Linked DNA regions of Homo sapiens: all the other regions are linked to region 1. The links are contacts of gene promoters, found by promoter capture Hi-C in blood cells and fetal thymus (Javierre and others, 2016). All regions are on one chromosome and are shown on one strand. Each heading gives the region's core, a stretch centred on a gene start or on the middle of the fragment in contact. The rest is flanking DNA. Distances are from core to core; before and after follow the strand shown.

What was found. Contacts are between HindIII fragments. The CHiCAGO score rates a contact against its expected background, and 5 or more counts as called.
Region 2: a contact is called between a fragment that was not itself captured here and the fragment with the promoter of MBIP in region 1, in 1 of 17 cell types (total CD4 T cells). The highest score is 6.2, in total CD4 T cells.
Region 3: the fragment with the promoter of DTD2 here is called in contact with the fragment with the promoter of MBIP in region 1 in 7 of 17 cell types (total CD8 T cells, activated CD4 T cells, fetal thymus and 4 more); the score reaches 12.9 in total CD8 T cells.
Region 4: a fragment that was not itself captured here is called in contact with the fragment with the promoter of MBIP in region 1 in 2 of 17 cell types (total CD4 T cells and total CD8 T cells); the score reaches 9.9 in total CD4 T cells.
Region 5: a contact is called between a fragment that was not itself captured here and the fragment with the promoter of MBIP in region 1, in 9 of 17 cell types (naive CD8 T cells, total CD4 T cells, total CD8 T cells and 6 more). The highest score is 26.1, in naive CD8 T cells.
Region 6: a contact is called between a fragment that was not itself captured here and the fragment with the promoter of MBIP in region 1, in 1 of 17 cell types (total CD4 T cells). The highest score is 5.9, in total CD4 T cells.
Region 7: a contact is called between a fragment that was not itself captured here and the fragment with the promoter of MBIP in region 1, in 1 of 17 cell types (total CD8 T cells). The highest score is 7.0, in total CD8 T cells.

The regions. Positions count from the first base shown.
Region 1 is chr14:36,318,529-36,322,172 of GRCh38, forward strand. It overlaps MBIP (MAP3K12 binding inhibitory protein 1), which reads right to left and starts at 2,109. Exons shown (of 9, transcript NM_016586.3): 1 at 1,932-2,109. The coding sequence starts at 2,060. RefSeq lists enhancers at 1,798-2,057, 2,458-2,507. The HindIII fragment of the contact is 840 bases long and covers 1,635-2,474 here.
Region 2 is chr14:31,438,886-31,442,529 of GRCh38, forward strand. The region is part of intron 2 of HEATR5A-DT (HEATR5A divergent transcript); the gene reads left to right. Among named protein-coding and RNA genes, the nearest start is that of DTD2, 17 kb to the right of the region's middle. The HindIII fragment of the contact is 2,993 bases long and covers 100-3,092 here.
Region 3 is chr14:31,455,563-31,459,206 of GRCh38, forward strand. DTD2 (D-aminoacyl-tRNA deacylase 2) reads right to left here and starts at 1,944. Exons shown (of 3, transcript NM_080664.3): 1 at 1,721-1,944. The coding sequence starts at 1,831. RefSeq lists enhancers at 963-1,548, 1,549-2,134, 1,579-1,788, 1,929-2,108. The HindIII fragment of the contact is 653 bases long and covers 1,381-2,033 here.
Region 4 is chr14:31,548,424-31,552,067 of GRCh38, forward strand. It overlaps LOC105370438 (a long non-coding RNA gene), which reads left to right. Exons shown (of 4, transcript XR_943723.3): 3 at 2,348-2,504. Among named protein-coding and RNA genes, the nearest start is that of NUBPL-DT, 11 kb to the right of the region's middle. The HindIII fragment of the contact is 3,368 bases long and covers 364-3,644 here.
Region 5 is chr14:31,565,046-31,568,689 of GRCh38, forward strand. It overlaps NUBPL (NUBP iron-sulfur cluster assembly factor, mitochondrial), which reads left to right. Exons shown (of 11, transcript NM_025152.3): 3 at 1-3. Among named protein-coding and RNA genes, the nearest start is that of NUBPL, 5.5 kb to the left of the region's middle. The HindIII fragment of the contact is 430 bases long and covers 1,870-2,299 here.
Region 6 is chr14:32,070,426-32,074,069 of GRCh38, forward strand. No RefSeq gene overlaps it. Among named protein-coding and RNA genes, the nearest start is that of ARHGAP5-AS1, 4.5 kb to the right of the region's middle. The HindIII fragment of the contact is 4,057 bases long and covers 1-3,644 here.
Region 7 is chr14:32,204,945-32,208,588 of GRCh38, forward strand. No RefSeq gene overlaps it. Among named protein-coding and RNA genes, the nearest start is that of RNU6-8, 3.5 kb to the left of the region's middle. RefSeq lists an enhancer at 1,356-1,515. The HindIII fragment of the contact is 224 bases long and covers 1,744-1,967 here.

The DNA.
Region 1 (3,644 bases), core at 859-3,358:
TTAGTCTGCTATTAATATAGACTATTTAAATATATATTTTCAGTAAAAACTTTACTAAATTAATACAAAAATCCAAGCTAAAAATAAATAATTGTTTAGCTTGGTAAGATGGACCATCCAGAGGCAAGCAAAAAGGTTAAAATTAGTAAATTTTGTGATCTTAAGTAAAAAATTATTTTTAACATTCAGTTTTATGTTTCCTACTGAGGAGATCTAATAATACAACGATACTTAGGGATGACACAGGATGAAGTTAGGCATGTTACAACATACATTCTAAATATCCTTTAAAGTGGTTGCAAAAGAAAATACTGATTTCTCTGGGGGCAATTTTATAAGTATGGAACTCTAATTTTCACTCTTAACACTTCTCAAAATATAGAGTATTATGAAAACAGTTTGTATTTAATTGATGAAACAATCATATTTTTGACACTTGTATAGGAGGTCCCTTCACTGTGTCATGGTAAAGTAACCAAATATTTACTGTGAACATTTTTGACAGGTGACATAAGTAAATTGTAATCACTTCTTTACTTGTACAGTACTTGAATGTTTAAAATTTTCTAATGAGTTTGAAAAATTCAGTATGCAAAATATTTCAAAAGAAATGTTTAAATCATTGCTCAGTATTTTTTAAAAATATTCCATCTTCTGTTAACAGGTGAGAATAAACTTTTTTCATCTTGACATTATAAAATAAATAAACTTAAGTTCCAACGTCGCCATAAAAAGTTCTCTAACTTTTAAACCATTTAAACGTCTTGGGTCTTAAGAATGGAATGTTAATAACAAAACACCCCAAGTCTTTAAAAAATGTTTTTGGTAAGTACTTGGCAAACAACTGAATTTAAAAGTTATATCTTTAAGCAGACTCCATTAATAACTGCGTCATTTCATAAAACCGTTTAACTTACAGTAATGTTCTTTGTAAGACACAACATACTACGATTTTTAAAAATAGTAACTTCTTAAAAGACTGATTCTCCATCTACTCAAGGCTTTAAAAATAATTTTCACAAATCAGACAAATGTTCTATTTTCATAGGAATTTACCATTATCTTTGACACAAATGCCTGCTTTGTCCACTTGCGCTAGTACCAGCCCCAAAACAAACTTTTACGGCTAGAAAATGGTCTATGTAAGATAGAAAATATTTCCTTTTAAAAGGCAGGTAAACAAGCATACTTTTAAATTGTTTCTCATTTAAAACTTGAATTTTACACCATGAAACGAAACAGTGACTTGATCGAAGAAGCCCATTTCAATTTAAAACCAATTTTACTATGACATTTCTGCAAAAGCGATTTATCAGCCAGTTAAACTAGTTAATAGTTAAATAACGACAGTTCTAACGCCAACAGCATTTTACGCTAGAAGTATTTTAAATGAATTCCTTTTACTTTTCTCCCCATTTGAAAGGATTATAGATGCGCAAAACAGCCCGAAGGAAAAAAGAAATAAACAAAACCAAGTAACTCATAAGAACAAATTACTCCCTCCCCCACCAAAAAAAGCTAATAAGCGCGCGCTTTTCTATAAATCTCAGGCCTACTGACCAACCAATTCCCATAAAGAGTAAGTTGGAGGAAAAAGGACCCTGAACGCTAAGCGCCTCCTAAACTCGCAGTGAAGCTTTTCCACATTCATTCTCTCCAAGCCTGCCTCTCTCGGAGCCGGGTTTTCACTTAGGCCAACCTCACCCACTCTTGGGGAGGACAGCTGCAAGGTAAACGACTCTGCAACCGGTACCGCCGTCCTCCTCACTCCGACCGAGGAGGCTGGGCCCGGGCTCCTTCCACACCTCGGCTTCGGGACCGCATCCCACACCTCTGCAGGCCTAGCTGCCCCCGGCCTCTGCTAGAGAAAAAGAATGGCGAGGAGGGACCGGATGGTTTCCATATTCCCAGTCCCTCAGGCCACCTCTCACCTGTCCAACCAGGGTGTGTAGGGAGCGAAAGATTTCGTAGAGCACCTCTCGGGAGAGGTTGGGTCTGCATCTTCGCTCCAGGTTCCTGTCACCGCTGCTCGGGCGATTAAGCTCCGTGGCAGCAGCCATGATATCTTCTCAGGCCGCCCCACCACCACCACCACCAAGATTTGCTCACAACCCCGCCCCCTCCCTTCCAGCTTTAGTCGCTTGGCGATGACGTAAGACACGGAGTCTGGTTTAGATCGGGCTTTGAGGCCCCACCCTCTCTATGTGAATGACAAGCACGTTACACCAATCAGTTGCAGCTGTGACATTGCGCCGAGGCTCTGAAGTGGGTAATTGCAGACCACAGCTAGGCTGGAATGCTGTGTTTGGGGTGGTCATTAGAGTCGTGGTCTCTTTAGCGTTATGAAGCCTACCTTGACTCCTAGGTGTTCATTGTGAATCTTGGTAAGAGGAGACATAGTTAAATTTTGTAGTTTGAGTCCAAAAAGTAAAAGTTGACATTTTAACATGGCGGTGTGGAGTGGGTCTGGAGGAAGCTTGCTGGTCAGGGATGGAGTGGTGCCCACACGTGTTTCTAAACATTGGAAAACTCACACGGAATTATCATGATTGGATAGAACATTTTCATCTCTTCAAGTTTGTTGTTGTTGTTTTGGAGACAGAGTCTCACTCTGTCGCCCAGACTGGAGTGCAGTGGCACTACCTCGGCTCACTGCAACCTCCGCCTCCCAGGTTCAAGCGGTTCTCCTGCCTCAGCCTCCTGAGTAACTGGGACTACAGTTGATATTCTCTGTTTTAACTGTAGAGACGCTTAACCCTAAAATTGTTTCAAAGAAATGAAACACTGTCAATATAATTCCAACAGGAATTTAACCTGGATAAATAATATCATGCAACCACAATCTTTGAAATTAGGACATAAAACCGAATTCAAATTTTACAAAGTATTATTTATCATAATAGCTTTATTATAACGATGTTTGTGGGGTTTTGTAATCTTTTAGTCAGACTCCGATATTTTTAAAAAGTGTTATCCAATTAAAGTATTACAATAATTTTTAGTGTTAAGCTTTATTCAAAAACACTTTAAGAAATCAACATCAGCTTAGAGATAAGGAAGGTGGGATTTAAAACTCGTAATTCTGTTAATAGTCTAATGCATTTACAGTAGAGAAAGCAAAGGTGGAAACTTGCACAATGTGTATTCTTTAGTTTTAGGGTAGACTAAATTAAAGGGAAGGACTAATGCATCAAGGAACTAAGATAAGGACGATGGGGATAAAAACTCCTTTGACCTGTCCCTAGGGAGTCTCTTAATTAGGCTTTCATTTCCAAAGACAAATGGGATCACCAGGCTTGACAGAATCTTGGGAAATCTTTTCTGTTCCCTTGTTGGCAGCAAGATATACAACTGACATTCCAGCCTATTTCTACAGGCAGAAAAATACTTCACAATGTCCAGTCTCAAATTGAGCAACCTTCTTATTCAAGCATGGTAATGGGGTAACTGTAAGTTTTTGTTTTGTACCAAATTAGCAATCAGTTTCAGATCATTTGTTTTCATTGAGGTGTTTCATATTTTTTCAAATATGGAGAACACTGATATGCAACACATTTGGGAATATGCTTTGTATATTTAAAAAATGTTGTCTTTAACAAGGTGCTGCTATTCCTTTCTTTGCCATCATTGATTTTGAATTTTCA
Region 2 (3,644 bases), core at 346-2,845, 4.9 Mb before region 1:
TAAATTCTTGTTGAAGAAACTATGCCTTTTTAATTCTGAGTGTGAGGGAGCTAAAGTCCAAATTTTTTTCCATTGATTATTGTGTAAATCACTGTTGTAAGCTTCTTAATGATGGTCACTGCGCAGTATACTTACCTGTTTGGTTATAATGCCTACCAGTGCTTTACACATACAAGGTAGCAAGTATCTCACTCATTAAATCTAGTAATAATTGCAAATATTTATCAAACTGAGTAGCAGTGGTTCAGTATTGAAATGCTTGCAAAATTTCTCTTTCCTGTTTCTAAATTAAAACATAAGGGGAAAATATGGGAATTAATATGGTATCATGATAATCCTATACATATTTTAGGATAAACACAAATCTGTGGGCCATATAGTGATGAACACTTTCTGGTCATAAGACCTCAGTAAAATAGAACATGCCGATAAAATTTTCAGAAAAGTCTAGGAAATAGCAAATTTATATCACCACTGGGGGGAAAGGGATTTTTTAAAAAAAAACCTTGTTGAAGCATATGGGCACTCACTATTATTTATGAGATGATAGCAAGTGTACTGAGTAACATTTTAAACAATATTCTGAAAACATCTTGAAACAAAAATTCAGCGCAGATTTATAAAGCAAAAAAAAGCAATCTAACACCAACGTGATTGAGGACACAAAATTTAATCATTGCTTAAAGATTATCAGATATTTCTCTTTCACTATTGAACGGAGATTTAATACTTGCAGTAACTTCTGCCAACTCAGAACCCTGAGAAAATAAGTCACTTTCTTTACAGAAATAAGAAGAAAAAAAAGGATATTACCAACAATGGAAGAGGAATGCAGAGTGGCAACAGCTCCAAGTGGACCTGGCAGACTATGAACACTAGAATCACCAAGGAAACATGGAGCTATGAAATGGCAAAAGGCTGTGTGAAAACCCTGACGCTTTTTGGTTCAGCCTTTAAAAACCAAATGAAAACTCAAGAGATACAAGAATGTGGTTATTTTGATGAACAACTCACAAACTAGTTGAATTAAAAGAAACTGGTTCAAATGAACACAAACCTAAACATTTTTTCAGTTCGTCTAATTAAAGTCTAACCAATTCCTTCTAATTTAAAAGATCCAGTTTTGGATATATCCAAGACTAAAACACAATCTTATCAAAGTCTATTTAATATGGTGTAAATCTCACGGGAACTGTGACTATCTTCTCTCCCAGTCTAAACCTTGTGGCTTTTCTGATTGCTTTTTATAATGATTGATGTTCATATCTCTCGCTTATTTTATAAGAAATAAAGAAAACAAAGATCATAAACTCACACACAGAAAAATAAAAGACACAGTTTTTTGTTTGTTTTGTTGAGACAAGGTCTCACTGTATTGCCCAGGCTGGTCTTGAACTCCTGGGCTCAAGTGATCCTCCTGCCTTGGCCTCCCAAAGTGCTGGGATTACCACACCTGGCCAGCAATACATTTTTAAATGAAGATTCACTACCCTAGCCAAAAGTGTCTTCTCCTTCTGCAGCTATTTTATTAATAAAACTCACTGATAGCATTGTCCAGACATCAGAGACCACATACTACCTAGTGCATTTTTGTGGCTAATGTGTCCCCTACTAGATGGTAAATTCCTTGGGGCTAGTGATCATATCTTAAACATTTCACACAGCCCCTAGCTACACTGCTGACCTGCAGATTATAAAGACCACAACATTTAAGTGGAAAGCAAGTATCCATTATGCAGTATTAAGCAAATGTTAGATTTTCAACATATGGGTTTTAAAAGGCAAATATGTATATAATGAAAAGAAGTAAAAGCCCTGTGGCTGGGTGGGGTGGCTCACGCTTGTAATCCCAAAACTTTCGAGGCTGAGGTGGGTGGATCACTTGAGGTCCGGAGTTCGAGACCAGCCTGGTCAACATGGTGAAACCCCATGTCTCAGGATGGGGAACATCACACACCGGGGCCTGTCGTGGGGTGTGGGGAGGGGAAGGGATAGCATTAGAAGATATACCTAATGTAAATGACAAGTTAACGGGTGCAGCACACCAACATGGCACATGTATACATATGTAACAAACCTGCACGTTGTGCACATGTACCCTAGAACTTAAAGTATAGCAATAAAAAAAAAAAAAAAAGAAACCCCGTGTCTACAAAAAAATACAAAATTAGGCCAGGCGCAGTGGCTCATACCTGTAATCCCAGCACTTTGGGAGGCCAAGGTGGGCAGATCACGAGGTCAGGAGTTTGAGACCAGCCTGTCCAAAATGGTGAAACCCCATCTCTACTAAAAAAATAAAAAATTAGCCAGGCGTGGTGGCCAGTGCCTGCAATCCCAGCTACTCAGGAGGCTAAGGCAGGAGAATCACTTGAACGTGGGAGGCGGAGGTTGCAGTGAGCCAAGATCACACCATTGCACTCCAGCCTAGGCAACAGAGCAAGACTCTGTCTCAAAAAAACAAAAAGCAAAAAAAACCAAATTAGCCAGGCATGGTGGTAGTCACCTGTAATCCCAGCTACTTGGGAGGCTTAGGCAGGAGAATCGCTTGAAGCCCAGAGGCAGAGGTTGCAGTAAGCCAAGATCGCGCCAAGATCGCACCAAGATCACTCCAGCCTGGGCGACAGTGAAATGTGTCTCAAAAGAAAAAAAAAAAAAAGAAATAAAAGCCCCGAGGACTTTCAGAATGTAATCAGAAGAAAAAATAATGCAGGCATTGAGCAAACTAAACTTAAAAGATGGTCATGTTTGCTCATAGACATACCTTGGGGCTGCTAAGGAAATCAGAAGAATGCCAGGAATAGAAAGTGTGCCTTAGCCTATCTACATTAGTACAAGGTTGAAGTAAACAGTCTCTCAAAGTTGGAGCCAAGGGTTACATTTTCGCTAGTATGATCAGACATTTTCTAAAAAAACTCCATACCTTCCCTTAAAACAAAAAAAAAGCCCACAATTACTTTCCCAACCTCAAATGTTTATGGCAATAATAGCTAATGGTTCTCAGATACTGTTATACAGGGTGTGGTGCATTCTCCACATAAATTCTTCTTTTCACATTCAGATAAAAGGCTGATGTAATAGGTCAAATTTTATTAAGCTTCTTAAGAGAAAAATGCTGACTAACCCAGTGTGAAGAATTCATTCACATGGAAAAGTCCAGTAAAAAGAAGTAGGGTCATATTTATCTTAAAGTTGGCTATTTGTGATGTATCCCACATAACTGCTTTATTTTGTGATTAAATATAGAAGGGTTTTAATAAATCTTGTTTCATCAAAATTCATATTTGTAAACAAAATAAAGATATTTTTGCATCATAGAAAGTTTGCTTTATGAAAAGACTCAAATATAGGTTTGTTTGTTTGTTTTTTTTTCTTATTTTGAGACAGAGTATTGCTCTGTCGCCCAGGCTGGAGTGCGGTAGTGCCATCTCGGCTCACTGCAACCTCTGCCTCCCAGGTTCAAGTGACTGTCCTGCCTCAGCCTCCCGAGTAGCTGGGATTATAGACACCTGCCACCAAGCCCGGCTAATTTTTGTATTTTTAGTAGAGACAGGGCTTAGACAGTATAATGGTAGGCAGATATAATACAGTGTAAACACACTGTACTATGTACACTAACACACTATACTATGTCTTCCTACCATTAT
Region 3 (3,644 bases), core at 694-3,193, 4.9 Mb before region 1:
AAAAAAAGGATAATTATTTTATTTATTATTTATTTTTGAGATGAGGTTTCACTCTGTGGCTCAGGCTGGAGTGCAGTGGCGTGATCTTGGCTCACTACAACCTCTGCCTCCCGGATTCAAGAGATTCTCCTGCCTCAGCCTCCCGAGTAGCTGGGATTACAGGTGCCCGCCACCAAGCCCGGCTAATTTTTGTATTTTTAGTAGAGACGGGATTTCAACATGTTGGCCAGGCTGGTCTCAAACTCCTGACCTCAAGTGATCCGCCGGCCTTGGCCTCCCAAAGTGCTGGGATTACCGCGCCTGGCAGGTTAATTCTTTAGATAGGATGGCAAAATAAAATAATAAAATTTCAAATAAGGAAATCAAGACCTCACAAAAAATCATGACAAAAATAAGAAATAAGAAAAGTGAATTTCTGGGAAAGGAGAGAGATAAGAATACAGGAATTTCTATGCTTATATTTCCAAATTAGCACAGGGCAACAGATTCTGATTTTAGAATAATCACCCACACATCATATAGTTCACGGGTACTATTTACAATAAGTAGGCGGGGTGCGGTGGCTCAGGCTTGTAATCCCAGCAGTTTGGGAGGCTGAGGCAGGTGGATCACCTGAGGTCAGGAGTTCCAGACAAGCCTGGCCAAAATGGCGAAACCCCGTCTCTGCTAAAAATACAAGTTAGCGTGGTAGCTTGCGCCTGTTGTCCCAGCTACTCGGGAGGCTGAGGAAGGAAAATTGCTTGAACCCGGGAGGCGGAGGTTGCAGTGAGCCGAGATCGTGCCACTGCACTCCAGCCTGGGCGACAGATCGAGAATTCATCTCAAAAAATAAAATAAAATATAAATAAATAAAATATAAAAAATAAAATAAATGTAAAATAATAACTAAAATTGTTTTAAGTAATGCTAGATCTGGGACCGAATTCAGCAGAAAAGGCGAGCGAATGAGATTTTGCTACACTGAAGTTTCTGAGTATCTACAAAAGTCTTAATTATGAACTAATTTTTTTCTTACATTTCAACGTACTCCAAAAATACGTCAGAGGCCTTAAAGAAAATTTTATTTGTTTTTGTATGCAGTGGGGGCAGGCGGTCTTAAAAAGTAAAGTATGTATGAAAGTAGAAGGAACTCATAGTGACATAAATGTTTTAAATTCTTTGGAGAAATGTGTTTGATAAGGCAACATTGTTATAAAAGTAGAGGTCTTTGTTTCTCAGTTGGAAATTGGTCAAAACTTTTAAAAGGCTTCTTGAAATAGAATTGTTTCTTAGGAAATCTCATTTCTATGCTAAGACCAAGTCAACATAGGGGGGAATTCGACGCGATCTGAGGCGTAAGTCAAAGCAGATCATGAACTCTTGCAGCAAACCTGACCTACAAGCTTGCCCCCGACCAGCATAGACCACGAGCTGCAAGGGGTCTGAGACAGTAAGGCCTGAAGTTCACCGAACTCAGTTTCAAATACCTGTGGTCCCCCCAAGAAGGGAGACACGCTCTTCCTCTCGGGTGCTACAACTGGCGCTGGGGAACGGTGATGCTGGACCGAAAAGACAAGCGCAGCCAGGCAGGCCACCGCGGCCAGCTTCAAGCTGACCCGGTATCCCCGCGGCCGGACCGCCGGTCTCAGAGGGAGACACAGAGCGGACGAGTCACCGAGACAACGCGGAAAAAACCGCCCCGCACGCCGGAGGATAACGAGAGCTGCCGGGCTGACGTTACCTCCACCCACTGGGCCGCGACGTCCCCATCGGCTGGGCGAATTTGCAGCCGGGCGTGCAGGCACTGCTGTAGGAGCGCCCGGGCCTGAGGAATCCGGCTACCCTCAGCCATGGCTTAAGCCAGCGCCGCGGCCGGACAGTTACTAGGCCATGTGTCGCTGGCCCCTCCCTCGACGCGCTGGCGGGGCAGACGAGGCGGGGCACGACGAAGGGCCTGCGCCGATTGCCCAGTGGCCCCGCCCTTAGGAGGGCGGGGCCTCGGACTGACTCTCGAATGTCCCGGATGTGCGGTCTTGGAGGCCGGCGTAGCGCTAAGCTTCTCGGCAGCACCTGCCCAACTCTGTAGAAGGCGCTCAGTGTATACTTTTATTAAACGATTGAAAAGACTCGTTAAATCTCTTTCCTACAAACCTTTTAAGAAACATTTTTCACCTCAGAAAGCTTAGGTTCCAACTGTTGAAAAATTTTAAATCTGCTTGATTTAAATTCATGTTATGCCCATATGAAAGTAAGTAAACAAATAATCGAATCATAAAGCAAGCGGAGATGGAACTAAAAGCTATATATACATCCTTCAAAATTTTCCTTATTCCAATCAATAAAAACAATGCTGCCTCCTCTATCGGGAATGCCATAAATTATTCTGATTCCACAGTTGTGAAAAGGTATTGGTATGCTATACGAATACACATTCTTTAGAAGATATCCTTGTTAAAAATGTTCTTATCCAAGAAAGTATGATTGTTAATAACTTAGCCCGCTACTAATACAAAAATAAAACAGCTTATTCTGATGCATATGACGTAAATTCTGTGATGCATTTTCTGGAAGTACATATTAGAATGTAAATAAAACTAAACAAGGGCTTGATTTTCTTTCCCATGTAACGTATTCCTTAAACATGCATCAGATTAGCATTTATTTGTCTATGGGCTTGGATGGTTTAGATGAGGAATAATAGTGTTACCCTGATTGCATTACCCAGGTCATTGATTTGGGCTCAGTTGACACAATGTGCCTATACATTCGGATCTGTTGTTTAAAAAGATGACATCACTGACAGTGTTGCTATCCATACAAAGTAGTGTGACTGAAGAAAATAGTCCATGCATAATCAACAGTCCTTTGTACACAAAATCGAAGCTGCTTGTTTGCTGGTTATCTTGCAGCCAGGTTTACACTTTTAGTAAAAACAGAAAGCAAAATCTCACATGATCTCTGATTGTTGCATTGCAGGGATTCCAACAGTTGTTGACATTTGTCTGCAAAGCACAGACAAGTTGAATTGCTTCATGTCTGCACCTTTATGTCATTATAACTACTGAGTCTCTTTTCTCTCCGGCTCTCAGATTCAGATTTTACAGGCCTGAAAGAAACTTTGACATACAAACCATTAGCTATGTCCCAGAATAAGAAAAGACTTTGGTGTCCATTTGTATGTGGCTGCAGGAAATAGGGAGGTCTATAGAGAATAGGTTATGTGGTTCGCAGAGATCTTTCTACAGAGAGGGTTTCTTTAACAAATTGGGAAACCCTTCCTGTGAGTAGAATAGATGGAGTATGGATGGTAATGGTTAGCTTCTCAAAAATCACTAATTACTTTAAACCCTCCTATTGAGTGAGGATCTCGTGGACATTGCTGTAGGTACTGTAATAGGCTGTGGCTCACTTATTTTTTACTTCTATTTGCAGAAGGCTATAGAGAGTGGCCACCAAAGACAGCATTTCCTTTCTGTATTTTATTTTTTGAACACTTAGTTTCATTCTGCAAATAATTTAAGAAGGAAGGACATGCATGCAATAAAATAGTAAAATGTGAATTAAAGCATTAGAAATAAAGAAACTAGAATTATGTCAGTAAGCCACAATGGGGGAAATTGAAAACAGGTAAGACAGTGGTTCTCAACTGGAGTGCTGAGATGATA
Region 4 (3,644 bases), core at 798-3,297, 4.8 Mb before region 1:
GAAGGGTTCCCCTTTCTCCACATCTTCACCAGCATCTGTTATTGCCTGTCTTTTTGACAAAAGCCATTTTAACTGGGGTGAGATGATATCTCATTACGGCTTTGATTTGATCTGATAATTAGTGATGTTGAACATTTTTAAAAAACCTGAATATCTGTATATATTTATTTGTACATCTTCTTTTGAGAAATGTCTATTCAGATCTTTTTCTCACTTAAAAATCAGACTTTTTTTTTTCTGCTTTTGAGGTGTTTGAGCTTCTTATGTATTCTGGTTATTAATCCCTTGTCAGATGGGTAGTTTTCAAATATTTTCTCCCATTCTGTGAGTGGTCTCTTCACTTTGTTTCCTTAGCTGTGTAGAAGCTTTTTAGCTTGATATGATCTCATTTGCCCACTTTTGCTTTGTTTGCCTATACTTTTGAGTTCTTACTCAAGAAATCTTTGCCTGAACCAATGTCCTGGAGCATCTCCTCAATGTTTTCTTCTAGTAGTTTCAAGTTTCAGCTCTTAGATTTAGGTTTTTATTTTGATTTGACTTTTGTGTATGGTGAGAGATAGGGGTCTAGTTTCATTCTTTCTCACATGGACATCTAGTTTCCCCAGCACCATTTATTGAAGAGACTGTTCTTTTCCTAATGTATGTTCTTGGTCCCTTTATTGAAAATGTGTTGACTGTAAATGCATGAATTTATTTCTGGGTTCTCTATTCTGTTCCATTGGTGTATGTGTCTGTTTTTATGCCAGTACCATGTTGTTTTGGTTACTATAGCTTTGTAGTATGATTTGAAGTCAGGTGGCTTTGTAATATAATTTGATGCCTCTAGCTTTGTTCTTTTTGCTTATGATTGCTTTGGCTATTCTGGTTCCTTTGTGGTTCCATATAAATTTTAGGATTGTTTTTTCTATTTCTGTGAAGAATGTTATTGGTATTTTGATAGGGTTTGCATTGAATCTGTAGATTGCTTTGGGTATTATGGACATTTTAACAATATTGATTTTTCCAATCCATGAACATGGAGTATCTTTTTCCTTTATTTTTTTCATTAGTGTTTTACAGTTTTCATTTTAGAGATCTGTATTAGTCCATTCTCACACTGCTATAAAGAAATATCTGAGACTGGGTAATTTATAAAGAAAAGAGGTTTAATTGGCTCATGGTTCTGCAGGCTATATAGGAAGTGTGGCTGGGGAGGCCTCAGGAAACTTACAATCATTGTGGAAAGTGGTCATTGTAGAATGTGAAGGGGAAGTAGACACATCTTCACATGGCCAAAGCAGGAGGAAGACTGAGATGGGGGAGTTGCCACACACTTTTAAAAAACCAGATTTCATAAGAACTCTATCAGTAGAACAGCACCAAAGGAGGAAATCTGCCTGCATGATCCAATCACCTCCCATCAGGCCCCACCTCCAACATTGGGTATTACAACTCAACGTGAGATTTGGGTGGATACACAAATCCAAACCATATCAACTTCTTCTCTTTCTCCTTCTCCTTCTTCCTCTCTTCCTCTCCTCCTTCTCCTCCTTCTCTTCCTCCTCCTGCTCCTCCTCTTCCTCCTCCTCCTTCTCCTTCTTCTCCCTCTTTTTTTTTTTTGACGGTCTCACTTCCATTGCCCAGGCTGGCATACAGGGGTGCAATCTTGGCTCACTGTAGCCTCAACTTCCTGGACTCAGATGATCTTCCCACCTCAACCTCCTGAGTAGCTGGGACTACAGGTGCACACCACCATGGCTGGCTAATTTTTTGTATTTCAGTAGAGGGGATTTTGCCATGTTGCCCAGGCTGGTCTCAAACTCCTGGGCTCAAGTGATCCACCTGCCTCACCCTCAAAAATTGTGAGCTGTTGTGCCCAGCTGAGATCTTTCACTTATTTGGTTAAGTTTATTCCTAGGTGTTCTATTTTATTTGTGGCTATTGCAAATTGGCTATTCATTTTCTTAGTGGGATCTTTTGATGTGCAGAAGTTTTAAATTTTGATCGTGCCTAACTTGTACATTTTTTAAAATGGCTTTTGTATTCTGTGACACATCTAAGAAACTTTTGATCACTCCTAAGTCAGGAGTAAATGCTCTCATTTTGCACTTTCTCAAGAAATTTTAGAATCATCTCATTAATTGCTGGGATTATGATTGGGGTTTTGTTGAATCTATAGATAGCGTGCAAGTAACATTGACTTTGATATTTTTAATTTGAGACTTTCAGGAATGGATATCTATGTTGGTCGATGTATTTTAATACTTTGGCGAAAGGAAAACAGGGTCTGATCAGCCTTCTGTGTTTTAGGCAAGAAGAGAGCCTATAATAGTCTACAAAATACTTCTATTTTGTGTTGTTTACTCAGAAGGACTTTGGACAACAATTTCTTTGACTGAAACTGGGGTCAGAGTTGCAGACTCCCTGGAACATGAAAAGTCAATAATCTAGTTCCCAAAAGGCAGACAAGAAACTATTCCCAAGATGAACAAATGATGAGAATAGAGGTAAAGGTGAAAATGATGGTAAGTGTGAAAAATCCATTTATAACACTTCAATTTGTGTTCTTTAAGGAAGAAAATATACCTTGTGCTTTTTCTGGTCTGCAGCATCTCTAAACTATTTGCCTTTATTTTCTCAAAAGTATTTTAGGAACAGTGAAGTTACACAACTTTGTTCTCTTCAGTTCTTATTTTAATTCAATATGAGCTTGGAAGAAGAATCTACAGATTATTTCATTTAATCCCTTCATGGTGTATGAAGTAAACAGATTTAGAGTTAAATGATTTGTCTGAGGCCATGCGGCTAGTTAGTAGCAGAGTTCTGACAACATCCCAGGCTTTTCTATCTCTCTACTCCACTGATATTTCCAGTATGCATTGCTTTTATAATAGCTAACCACTCACTAACTCCTGATCCCCTACAATGTGCCTGGCGCTGTGCTACATATAGGTGATATAAATTATCATTATAATATACTTTTGTTCCTCAAATACCACATAGCTCTATGTAATAGAAGACATATGAAAATAGTAAAAGGGGCCAGGTACGGTGGCTCACGCCTATAATCCCAGCACTTTGGGAGGCCAAGGCGGGCAGATCACCTGAGGTCAGGAGTTTGAGAACAGCCTGGACAACATGGTGAAACCCCGTCTCTACTAAAAATACAAAAATTAGCTAGGTGTGGTGGCAAGTGCCTGTAATCCCAGCTACTCAGGAGGCTGAGGCAGGACAATCGCTTGAGCCGGGGAGGCAGAGGTTGCAGTGAGCCGATATCATGCCACTGCACTCCAGCAGGGGTGACAGAGCAAGACTCTGACCCCAAAAAAAAAAAAAAAAAAAAAAAAAGAAAAAAGAAAAGATTGTATGAGAGAGACCTGACATAGGCTAGCATTGCTAACTTCAATTTATAAAATGAAAGCAATCAAACTGCACCTTAAATTCATGTTCTATTAAATAAAATGTTAACTGTTAAGGAAGGTGAAGTTTAATGCTTGATGAAATTATCAGAGAAGTCTATAGAAAAAGAAAAATTTGAGACAGAATTTCAAGGAATGATGGAATTAGGAAGGGTAGAGGGATTATAAACTATTATAATCGGGACACAACAAATATGTTAATAAAAACTTGAATACCTTATAAATTAAAATGCAATTTCAATGCAG
Region 5 (3,644 bases), core at 835-3,334, 4.8 Mb before region 1:
TCGGTAGGTGTTTATTAATAGAAATATTAATTTATTAAAATGTTTTTAAGGCAATGATAAAGAGCATATTGGTGTTTTTTATTTACTCTGTCAGAAGCTATAGTGTAGTTGTAGTGAGTTGCATATCTTTAAGGAACTCAATGCTGCCATCACTACTGGTTACATTTAATAATAATAATGTATTTAAGTGTTGACCATATATTGTTTGCTATATATCCCACAAGAGGCTTTGATGTTCTTTATATCCTAAACCAATTTTGCCTTTATGATTTACAGAAGCATTATTCTGGGTTCAGTTTTTAAGTGTTAGGGATTAAGTTTTTTTAAGGGGAAAGATATTCTGAAAGTAGTGTATATCCATTAAAACAAAATTCAAATGGAATACGTGTGTAATGCAAAACTGAAAGTTTATGCATTCCTTTCTGTTCCAGAGAATTAACTTAGGCTATAGTTCTATGTATATCCTTTCAGCTCTTCCTTTCTCCATATAAAAATCTAAAACAATGTACATGTATGTGTGTGTGCATACATCTTTCCATGATGTGCCTCATTCTTAATGGCTGGTGCATTAATGGTCAATGATAATATATTTAACCAGTTCCCATTTGATGAAATATTTAGGTTGGGTCCCATTTTTTCCCTACTCTAAACGATGCTATGGTGGAGTTCTTAAATAGTATTCTTATATACTAAGTGATGACATTTTTGTAGGATAGATTCCTAGGAGTAAAACTACTAGGTCAAAAGATATTCCTACTTTAAATTGTACTCCTAAAAGTTTGCTTGTAAAAAATTTCAGTTCCATTCTTTTCCTTGGGAGAAGAAAAAAAAATTCAGCTATAGTCTATGGGAGTATCAATTTTTCATAGTCTCATTATTGTTGGATGTTATCTTTTTAGATATTAAAAAAAATAACATTCAACTTATTTGCAACTCCATAAATTATCAGCTACTAAATGAAAAGGCACACACGTATTTCAGAATTGATTTTAATTTCTGCTTCATACCTATTTTATAGAATACAGGCAAGAATCATTTAATATGTTTAACTGTGGCTATACTTCTAACTTATTTTCTACCCGTACTATGTAACTTCAGTTCCTAATAAATAGCACATATGAAAAAATAATATGTGGTATCTCTGTAAGTATGTTATCAGTATATGGAGTCCAGAATCTGCCAGATCCTGGAACTAGACATAGATATTCATGTCTTCTGATGCTTGGCTGTATATTTCTGAAAATTGGAAACTAATAAACAAGATTTATAATATTTTGGTTATGTAAATTTTATTCACCATAGAAACAGGTAGCATAAAAGGACTTTTAGGGAAGAAAATGTAATTAAGTTTCTCTAAAGTTGCGCTTCTAGAAAGAGAAGATTCAAATATCAAGACAAAATTTTTTCTTAAAAAATTTTTTTTCAACTTGCTTCCTTTTATGGGGGACCTACTTTCATGTATCCCATCTTATCCTCTTTCTTGAATTCTTTTTTTTGTTTTTCTGAAGGACACCCTTGAGTCCTTATATGGTTTGGTAGGCAGAACAGTGGCCTGCCAAAAGTGTCCACATCCTAATTCCTGGAACCTGTAAATATGTTACTTTTCCTGCCAAAAGGAACTTTGCTGGTGTGACTAACACCAGCAAAATTAAAGATCTTGAGATGGGAAGATTATCCTGGATTATCTGGCTAGGTCCAATTGAAGATCCTTATAAATGAAAGATGGAGGTAGGTCCGAGTCAGAGTGACTTGATAAGAGAAGGATTCAATCCACCATTGCTGGCCTTGAAGACAGAAGGGGACCACTAGTCAAGGAATGTAGTCAGCTTCCAGAAGCTTGAAAAGGCAAAGAAATTGATTTTTCCCTAAAGCTTCCAGAAGGTACGTAATTCTGCCAACACCTTAATTTTAGCTCATTGAGATCTCTTTGGACTTCTGTGATAATATTTTATAGAAGTAGGAAACTAATACATATAGGAAGTAAATTTGCTTATTTCTTTAATTTCCAAAAGTGTCTTTAATTTATATTCGTTATTTGATAGCTTAACTAGATTCTAGTTAACTATAAAATTCCAGGTTCAAAATAATTTCCTCTCTGAACTTTGAAAACAACATACCGTTTTTTTCTAGCATGCTAATGAAATGTCTGATGATAGTCTGATTCATGTTCTTTTGTAATAACCAGTGTTTTCCCTCTCAAAGAGTTTAGGTTTTCTTTATGTCTTTTACATTTAAAAGTGCCACAAACATGCGTCTAGTTATTGGCTTAACCTGCGTGGGATTTGGCCCTGCAGTATCAAGCTTTGAGTATTTTTCAGCATAGGAAAAATTTCTTCTGCTCATTGATTATGTTTTGTGATGTGTTTGTTCTGTCTCCAGAAACCTGTTAGGTAGATACTGACCTTTATGCTTGTTAATTTTTCTGTCATATTTTGATCTCTTTGTCTTTTGCTCTGTGTTTTGAAAGATGTCTTTGACTATTTTTCACATTGCTGTATTGGACTTTAGTTGTTATTAGGTTCTTCTGATTTTGTTTTTCATTTGGAAATTATTTTTTTTTCCAATTTTTCCAGAACTATTTCTTATTTTCCACTTGCTGTTCCAAAAAAAAGGTTGTACCATTCTCTTGAATCTCTCCGAGGATGCTAATTGAAATTAATAAAAAGTGTTTTTCTTAGTGACCTCTGCTTACTTAGGATGGTTCTTGTAATGTGGCTGTTGACCAGCAGAATCAGCTTTACCTGGGAACTTGTTAGACATGTAAAATCTTGAGCCCCACCCTAGGCTTACTGAATCAGAAACCCTGGGGATAGAGATCTGCAATCTGTGTTTTAACCAACCCTCTAGGCGATTTTGATGCATGCCAAAGTTAAGAACCATGGATCTAGAATTTTCCACTTCTAACCTGCTAATGTCACCCTCTTTTGTTTTCTAGTGTGGTTATGGTTTTATTTAGTTTTAGACTATTTTGTTTCCTTGTCATTTCAATGGAATTTGGAAGAGAAGGGAGATAAACATATATGTTTAGGCAACCGTATTGAGATAAGAGCCAGTAATATGGTTTTTTTCCTAGTGATTTTAATGACAGCACTTAGTTACCCTAGAAAAAGGACCCTGTCTTCCTTAAGGAAGGAAACGGAAAATTCAATGGATGGGAAGGTAGATAAATTTGTAGGTGTGGACCTCTTTTAATTTGGTTATCATTGCAGCCAAAGCTTTGAGTCTTATAGATAATGTGAAGTAACTATGTAATAAGGGATCCAAGGATGAAAAAAACAGTTAACTCATTTCCTGTTTAGAAAAAAAAAGTGCAGCTCGCTGCCAGCACTTATTTAACTTTACATAAACACGCCCTTCGAGGCTGAACCAAATCTGACTGATTTTCAATGTGAAAATAAAATATAAAAACTCTTCTTGGAGTTATTTCTAAACAGAACTAACATTAGAATTCTCTGAATCATCAGAATTGTCTATTTCAGAAAAATTGGATTCATCAAATGAATCTTCGGCCAACAACTGTTTGAGGATGATATTACCATCACACTCAGGAATGCTACGTTTTCTAGGATTTGACATTTTCAGTGATTGAGAATTACTATATTTTGTAAATTGAAATGCTGCTACTAAAAATAGAATGCTATAAA
Region 6 (3,644 bases), core at 555-3,054, 4.2 Mb before region 1:
CACAAACGGAACCAGGCAATACCTAATGTGGCCTGTAAGAGGCCCAAGAGATAATTAAGAGAGAAGGAAAAGAAGACAGAGAATTAAAAAGTAAAAGGAAAGGAAAAAGGAAAAAACACCTAAAGTAAGAGTAGGAGGGGGTAAAAAAAGAGAGAAGAAAAGAGAAGCGTAAAAGAGAAAATAGAGACATACATGGTAGGCAGCCAGTTGCTTCAAGACAATTTACCTTATCCTGCCTTGTACAGTGTCTCTTTGCCTTTCTCAATTTTCAACCCCACTATAATTCAAATTTTTATAGTACAAGAAATACTATGTTCATTGTAGAAAATTAGAAAACACAGACAGAAAAAAATAAACATTAGCTATAATCTCACCATCTAGTTAAAATCTCTAATAACATGTTGGTCAATAATATTGTCATCTTATTTTCAGACATTTTCTTTTTATAAGAATCATACAGCTTTTAAGGCCGGGCACGGTGGCTCACGCCTGTAATCCCAGCACATTGGGAGGCCGAGGCAGGCGGATCACGAGGCCAGGAGATCAAGACCATCCTGGCTAAAATGGTGAAACCCTGTCTCTACTAAAAATACAAAATTAGCCGGGTGTGGTGGCGGGCGCCTGTAGTCCCAGCTACTTGGGAGGCTAAGGCAGGAGAATGGCGTGAACCCATTGGGAGGCGGAGCTTGCAGTGAGCTGAGATCAAGATTGAGTCACTGCACTCCAGCCTGGGCAACAGAGTGAGACTCCATCTCAAACAGCAACAACAACAACAGCAACATACAGCTTTTATTGCTTTGTACCATTTTTTCCCACATAAAGTATTATGACTATTTTTCTACCTCAATAAATACATGCTTCTAAAATATCATTTTAAATAATTGCTTCCTTTTAAATTTAATTCTATAAGAATTTAATTTATAGGATACATATAGCTCTTTATATGCTTTTGCTACATCAGTTTTACATTATTGTCATGTTTGTAAAATCTCAGAATAACTAATATAAATATTTTGTGGCATAGCATAAAAAAGTTATTTAATGTCTATTCCTATAAGAATTAGAACCAGAAACAAATGATGTATGTGATATAGGCCTGTCCTGGGCTGTGCCGAAGAGGAGTAAGAAGCCTAGTTGGAGAAAGAAGGTGAGTATTCTTATTCCTCACTGTATAACAGATGTATATGAAAGAAGCTATGTGTTCATCAAAAGAATCACATTGTAATTTGAGACATACAGAAGTACAGATGCACCTCAACTTATGATGGGGTTACTTCCCAATAAACACATCATAAATTGTAAATACTGTAAAGTCAAAAATGCATTTAATACACCTAACCTACCAAACATCATAGCTTAGCCTAGCCTAACTTAAACATGCTCAGAACACTTACATTAGCCTACAGTCAGGCAAAATCATCTAACACAAAGCCTAGTTTATAATAAAATGTTGAATATTTCATGTAATGTATGGAATACTGTTCTGAAAGTGAAAAAAAAATGGTCGTATGGGTGCTTAAAGTACAGTTTGTACCGAATGCTGTCACTATTGCTTTCGTACCATCGTAAAGACAAAAAACCTTAAGTTGGACCATCGTAAGTCAGGGGCCTTCTGTATTTAGAAGTATGTATATATTTATTGAACTAGAAAAATAGTTGTATTTTTGCCTTTTTGAAGAAAATGCAACATGTGAATTGGCAAAATAAGTATTTACCATCTATTTTAGTTTAAAATAATAGGGAAAACCGACAGAGACTTAATTGAGAAGTGATTAGCCACTTTATCGTTGGTTTCAGAAACTATACTGCACCAGTTCTTTAGAATGTTTCCAGATGTTTCAGACCTATAGTTATTTGTTGTTAGTAACTCACATTTACCTACTAGAGAGATGTTATGTGGAAATATGTCGATTGTACTTGAGGAAGGACATCTAACTCAACTTTCACAGGTGAATTCAGCGATTTCTTTAAATGATTTGTATTTTCCAAAGTGATTATCTCAGCTGGCACTTCGAAATATAATCTAAAGCCTTCTGTTAGCCACAAATCCACAGAAATCCATAAAACCTAGAGTGTTTCATGTTATTATTATCAAACATTTATTGAACTTTCTACTAATGATCTTCTAGTTATTATATAGAGCCAAACATTCATTTTGTTATTCCTATGTAGAGAGACTCACAATCTAAATTTGGTCTAAATAGAGTGGGAAATTCACAAAAATTATGTTCATGAGGTTAAATAGTCAAGCAATACAAGTTCCTGTTTCCCATTGTAATGATTTACAAATGACAGTGGTAACAATCTCAAACAGAGAATTCAAATCCTTCAGTTAGCAATTCTTGCAATTATTTTTTAGCTTTATGGGGTTAACTTTATTGGGGTTGATTAAATTCAAGCTGTGATCTTTCATAAAAACTCAATAGAGAGTCCAGATGGCCCAACAATACCTCCTTTTGTGAGAGGAAATAACTTGAAGATTTTGTCTAATTAAAGTATTTGTGCTGGTGGGATCTGAATGAATTGTTTTTCCTTTAAAAGGAGTCTGCATTACAAATAATCTTTACAAAATACGAATTATTTAAAAATAGTGTGCTGCTTTCAGTATTTCAGTTATGTCCTAGGACTAGAGTTTCATGAGCATGACATTTTAAAGCTAGACTCTGATACCATCTTTGGGATTTCAGTCTGAAAATACAGTTCTGGAATATCAACAGAACAAGGCTGTGTGGAACAAAATGCCAAGAAGGTCAATGCACTACTTTCCTCCTGTTCCAGTCCCATGCTCACAATTACCTTAACTCTTGTCAAAATATTTTCTACAGTAACAGCCAAGACATAATTAGCACCTTTTCTTCATGTTGAAAATATCATTGGTACCCATAAAACAAATTTGGGGAAAGCCCTTAAGCACCTTAATGCAGCAAATGGCTACTGTGGATTGATACACCATTATTTGCCTAGCTGAAGGATTAATATCCCATCTTATCCTGCCTTCTTCCTCCCCTCAAGTAGGCCTAATTGTATGAGATAGAGAGAAAAAGAGAAGTCTAGGCAGGAGATGGGGATAAGGTAAAGAGTGGAAATACAGTTGGAAATTAAGCAAATATCTTACAAGTGTTTTGGCTATTTAGCTATTTACATCATTATTCTCCATCCTCTTTGTGTATTTTGTCTGTAATCAAGGTGATATTCTGACATAGGTTGTTCTCCAAAAGCCTGTCTTGTATCAGACAGGCTAAAGTATTGGTCAATTCTGTCATGAGTGGTAAGGCCCTTTATTTGGCTTTTCATATGTTCCTGATTGAGACTACAGAAGCCAAAGTTGTTATGATCAAAGATTTCCAGCAGGGGGTGTAGCTGCCTCTATAGGGTAAGTTCTTTTGAAGCCACAACATATGAAACATTTGAATATTGCAGTATTACCACTAATGGTAGAAGCTGGAATTATGATAACTTTTTTTATGACTGTCATGTCTTTTGATCTCAAAAAGACCATGCATATTAATACTTTATTAGGATGTGATGAAGAACTAGAGATTTATGAAGAAAATTTAAATTAAAAACCGAAAATGCCTGACAAATCTTATTCTAATTTTTTCAAAGTAAACGAGGAACAAAGAGTCCAGTTATTTTAATTATCC
Region 7 (3,644 bases), core at 606-3,105, 4.1 Mb before region 1:
AATATGAGATCTTAAACATTTGTGAGTTTAGCATGTCTTCACACTGCACACTTGCAACATTAAAACATTATTGGCTTCTGCTAAACTCAAAAATATTTAAGATGCCGTATTTGCATTTTGACAAAAACAACTCTAGTGTTAGTACCCGTGGTTAAGCATATATGAATTTCCAATCACGTTTTTTTTTAGGAGGAAATAGTGTTCTTTATCACATCCTTATAGGAAAGTTATGAGGTAGGTGGCTATTTAATTAAATAATATTTTGTATGATTTGACTCATTTGAGAACGATGAGTCTTTTTTTTTTTGAGACGGAGTCTCACTCTGGCAACCAGGCTGGAGTGCAGTGGTGCGATCTCGGCTCACTTCAACCTCCGCCTCCCAGGTTCAAGTGATTCTCCTGCCTCGGCTTCCCAATTAGCTGGGACTACAGGCGTGCGCCACCACGCCCCGGCTATGTATTTTTAGTAGAGACGGGGTTTCGCCGTGTTGGCCAGGCTGGTCTCAAACTCCTGACCTCAGGTGATCCACCTGCCTCAGCTTCCCAAAGTGCTGGGATTACAGGCGTGAGCCACCGCACTCCCCCCACCACCCTCACGATGAGTCTTACTTAATAGGAATTATTAACAAATTGGCTTTAAGAAATTTATTTAAAGGATTTTTTCAGTGAGACAAATGTTTTATTTTTATATTCTGGAACATTTGAACTCATCAATAAACATAATAATTTTAACGATTTACATTAACTGAAATAAAACAACTGCCTTTCCTTTGTGACATGTAAAACTATGGTGCATTTCGCAATCAATGACATTTTAGATCCAAAGAGATGTATCTTATTTTTTGGAAGAGGAAACTGAGGCTGATATAAGTGTAGTGACCTCCCTGGGCAAGATTGGCCACTGGTCCTACCATCTTCTGATGCCGAATTCATTGCTGTTTTCACTGCACCATTTGTAGTATTACTAGGTCATACTATTTGCAGTAAACTGCAAAGAAAAAGATAAAGACCTCAAGCCTGCCATTTTACAATTATATTTCTGAGTTCTGCTCATTTGACTGCAGAACAAGACAGCACACACTAAGTGGAAAGCTGACCTTGTTCTTTTTACTCACAGAAAGGGCACATTTGGTGATGTGACACAATTGAAAGTCAAAAACCACAGGTCATTTCCTCTTCAGGAATTTTGCTCTAATTAAAAAGAAGAAGAAACTCATCCTAAATCCTCACATCCTCTTTAGCAAGGAACAGATGAGTCATTTAGAACCACAGCATCAATGACCGGCGTCACCTGGTGTGAAATTGGTGAACTCCAGGTGGGAAACAAAGGTTATCAACCTGGGCTGCAGGTCGCAATCACAAGAGCTTTTAAAAATACGAGTGACTGAGTCCTCCCCTGGAGATTCTGACTTTGTTATTGTTGTTTTTAGACAGGGTCTTCACTATGTTGCTTAGGCTGATCTGGAACTCCTGGGTTCAAATGATCCTTCTGCCTCAGCCTCTCAAGTAGCTGGGTTTACAGGTGCACACCACTGTGCCTGGAAAGAGATTCTGATTTAATTGTCCTGAGTACGGCCGGGGTGTCTGTGAGATATCTTTCTGCATTCTCCCTCTGCCTCTCTCTTTCTCTCCACGCCTCCTGTGAGCTCTCAGCCTTTATAAGATCTTCTTTGGGCTTGTCAGCACCCTTCTTTCTTTCCTCTCTTCTCCTTTCTTTTCCATCAGACACACTACATCAGGTGAAGCTTGTTTCGAGTTCCCCACCAGGCCCCTTTCTTTGCTACTGGCTTCCTTTTATGGCCATACTTCCTTCCCTCATAATGCACCCACTGGCTCCCCAAGACTCCTCCTAAATGTCCCACTTACAATTGTAAGGATATTTAAAGACTCATCAGTCTGGGTTTTATTTCTTCAGGGCTCTGCTAACTAACTCCACAAACTAAAATATACTAGAACAGTATTTCTCAAGCTTTCTTAGTGATAGATTCCCAGACCCAACTTCTTACAGTTTCCAGAGGATTGACTTATGCCACTGTATTCAGAGAATCACTGGCATATCACCCATATGACCTATCTGTGTTTTAATGGCTACTTTTAATGAAATGAGAAAGTCACTCTGGTAAAGCTGATGTGAGATATTTTGGTGCTTGGAGCCCTTTCATGGCAACCAGTTCCCTAATGTGTAGAAGATGTGTAAACCTCATGTTCTGTTTTATGGTAGGGAAAAAACCATGTCAGAGAGGAACTTCTTAATTTCTTGTAATTACTACAAATTTAACTCTATATACACTCATCCACTTTTCTGAAATGTTATTTCAGAAAAATGTTATTTACAAATAGATGTTATTTGTATGGAAAAAACATTTGTGCCCAGGTAGAAAACTGGATTGTCTGGAAAATACAAAATCTGATTCACATTCTATGGAAGCTATTTTACAACTCTGTAGATTGTAGATAACTGATGGCAGTTAATAATTTCTGTTTATAGCTGTGCAAATTCTCTCCTGACTGGAAGTTCAATTGACTTCTCTTCACCACTATGGAAGAACCCAGTTTTGCTTCCATTTGCACATTCAACCTTCCTTTATTCCACATAATTTTTTTATTTCTCTTTTGAACTAGTTGTAACGTCTCCTGCGTTTCCGCATTGATTCGTGATAAAATCTTTAACGTGTGTTCATTTTTTATGTGTATGAGAGGCATGATTTTATCCACTTTTTTAAAAAAATTGTCTTTTTAAAAGTTTGGAGGTCTTCCAATGAGTTGTCTATTGGATTCATCTTAACAAAACCAGATATACGTTTCACCAGACTAGCTTGTGGGCTGCTTAAAGCCCAAACACATTTTTTTCTTGGCTGCCAAATGACAATAGAACTTTGGTGACTCTGTTTTTCTAATTTTAATATTTTTCTCTATTAAGTTTGTGATTTGTCTCTGTTTTGCTTCCAGCCAGCCAGTGTGTCTGCTGTACTGGGTGGAAACAATGATTGGGAATTTGGTGTCATGGTCTAATCATTTGGTAAGCTCTGTGAATGGATTAATATTTATAGAGATCTAGTCTCTGTTGGGTGACAGACTATAGAGAAACTAGTTTATTAGTCTTGTTTATACACCTTTTGTCCATTTTGGGCTCAAATCAATTAAGAATATTGTGCCCATCAAGAAGGGGAACAGCTCTTTGATATCTGAATTAGTAATTTTTTTTGTGCTTCCGTGTTTATTCTTGACCCGTGAGTGAAATTTTAGAATTAAAGCTATAAACTCTATGTCTGCATGTTTGTAATTCAGAAAGGTCTTTATCTCTCATTATATGAATGTGTAATGCTTTCCTAAATCCAGAGGGTGTTAACAACTTAGATTATGAAATCTCCTACATTAAAGGAGTCCGGTTCTGATTGATTTAAGACAAAGGTCCCCAGCCCCCAGGCAATGGACTGGTACCTGTCTGTGACCTGTTCGGAACCCGGCCGCACAGCAGGAGGTGAGCAGAGGGCATGCGAGCATTGCCTCCTGGTAGATCAGCAGCAGCATTAGATTCTCATAGGTGTACAAACCCTATTGTGAACTGTGATTGTGAGGGATCTAGGTTGCACCTTCCTTATGGGAATCTAATGCCTGATGATCTGAGGTGGAACAGTTTCATC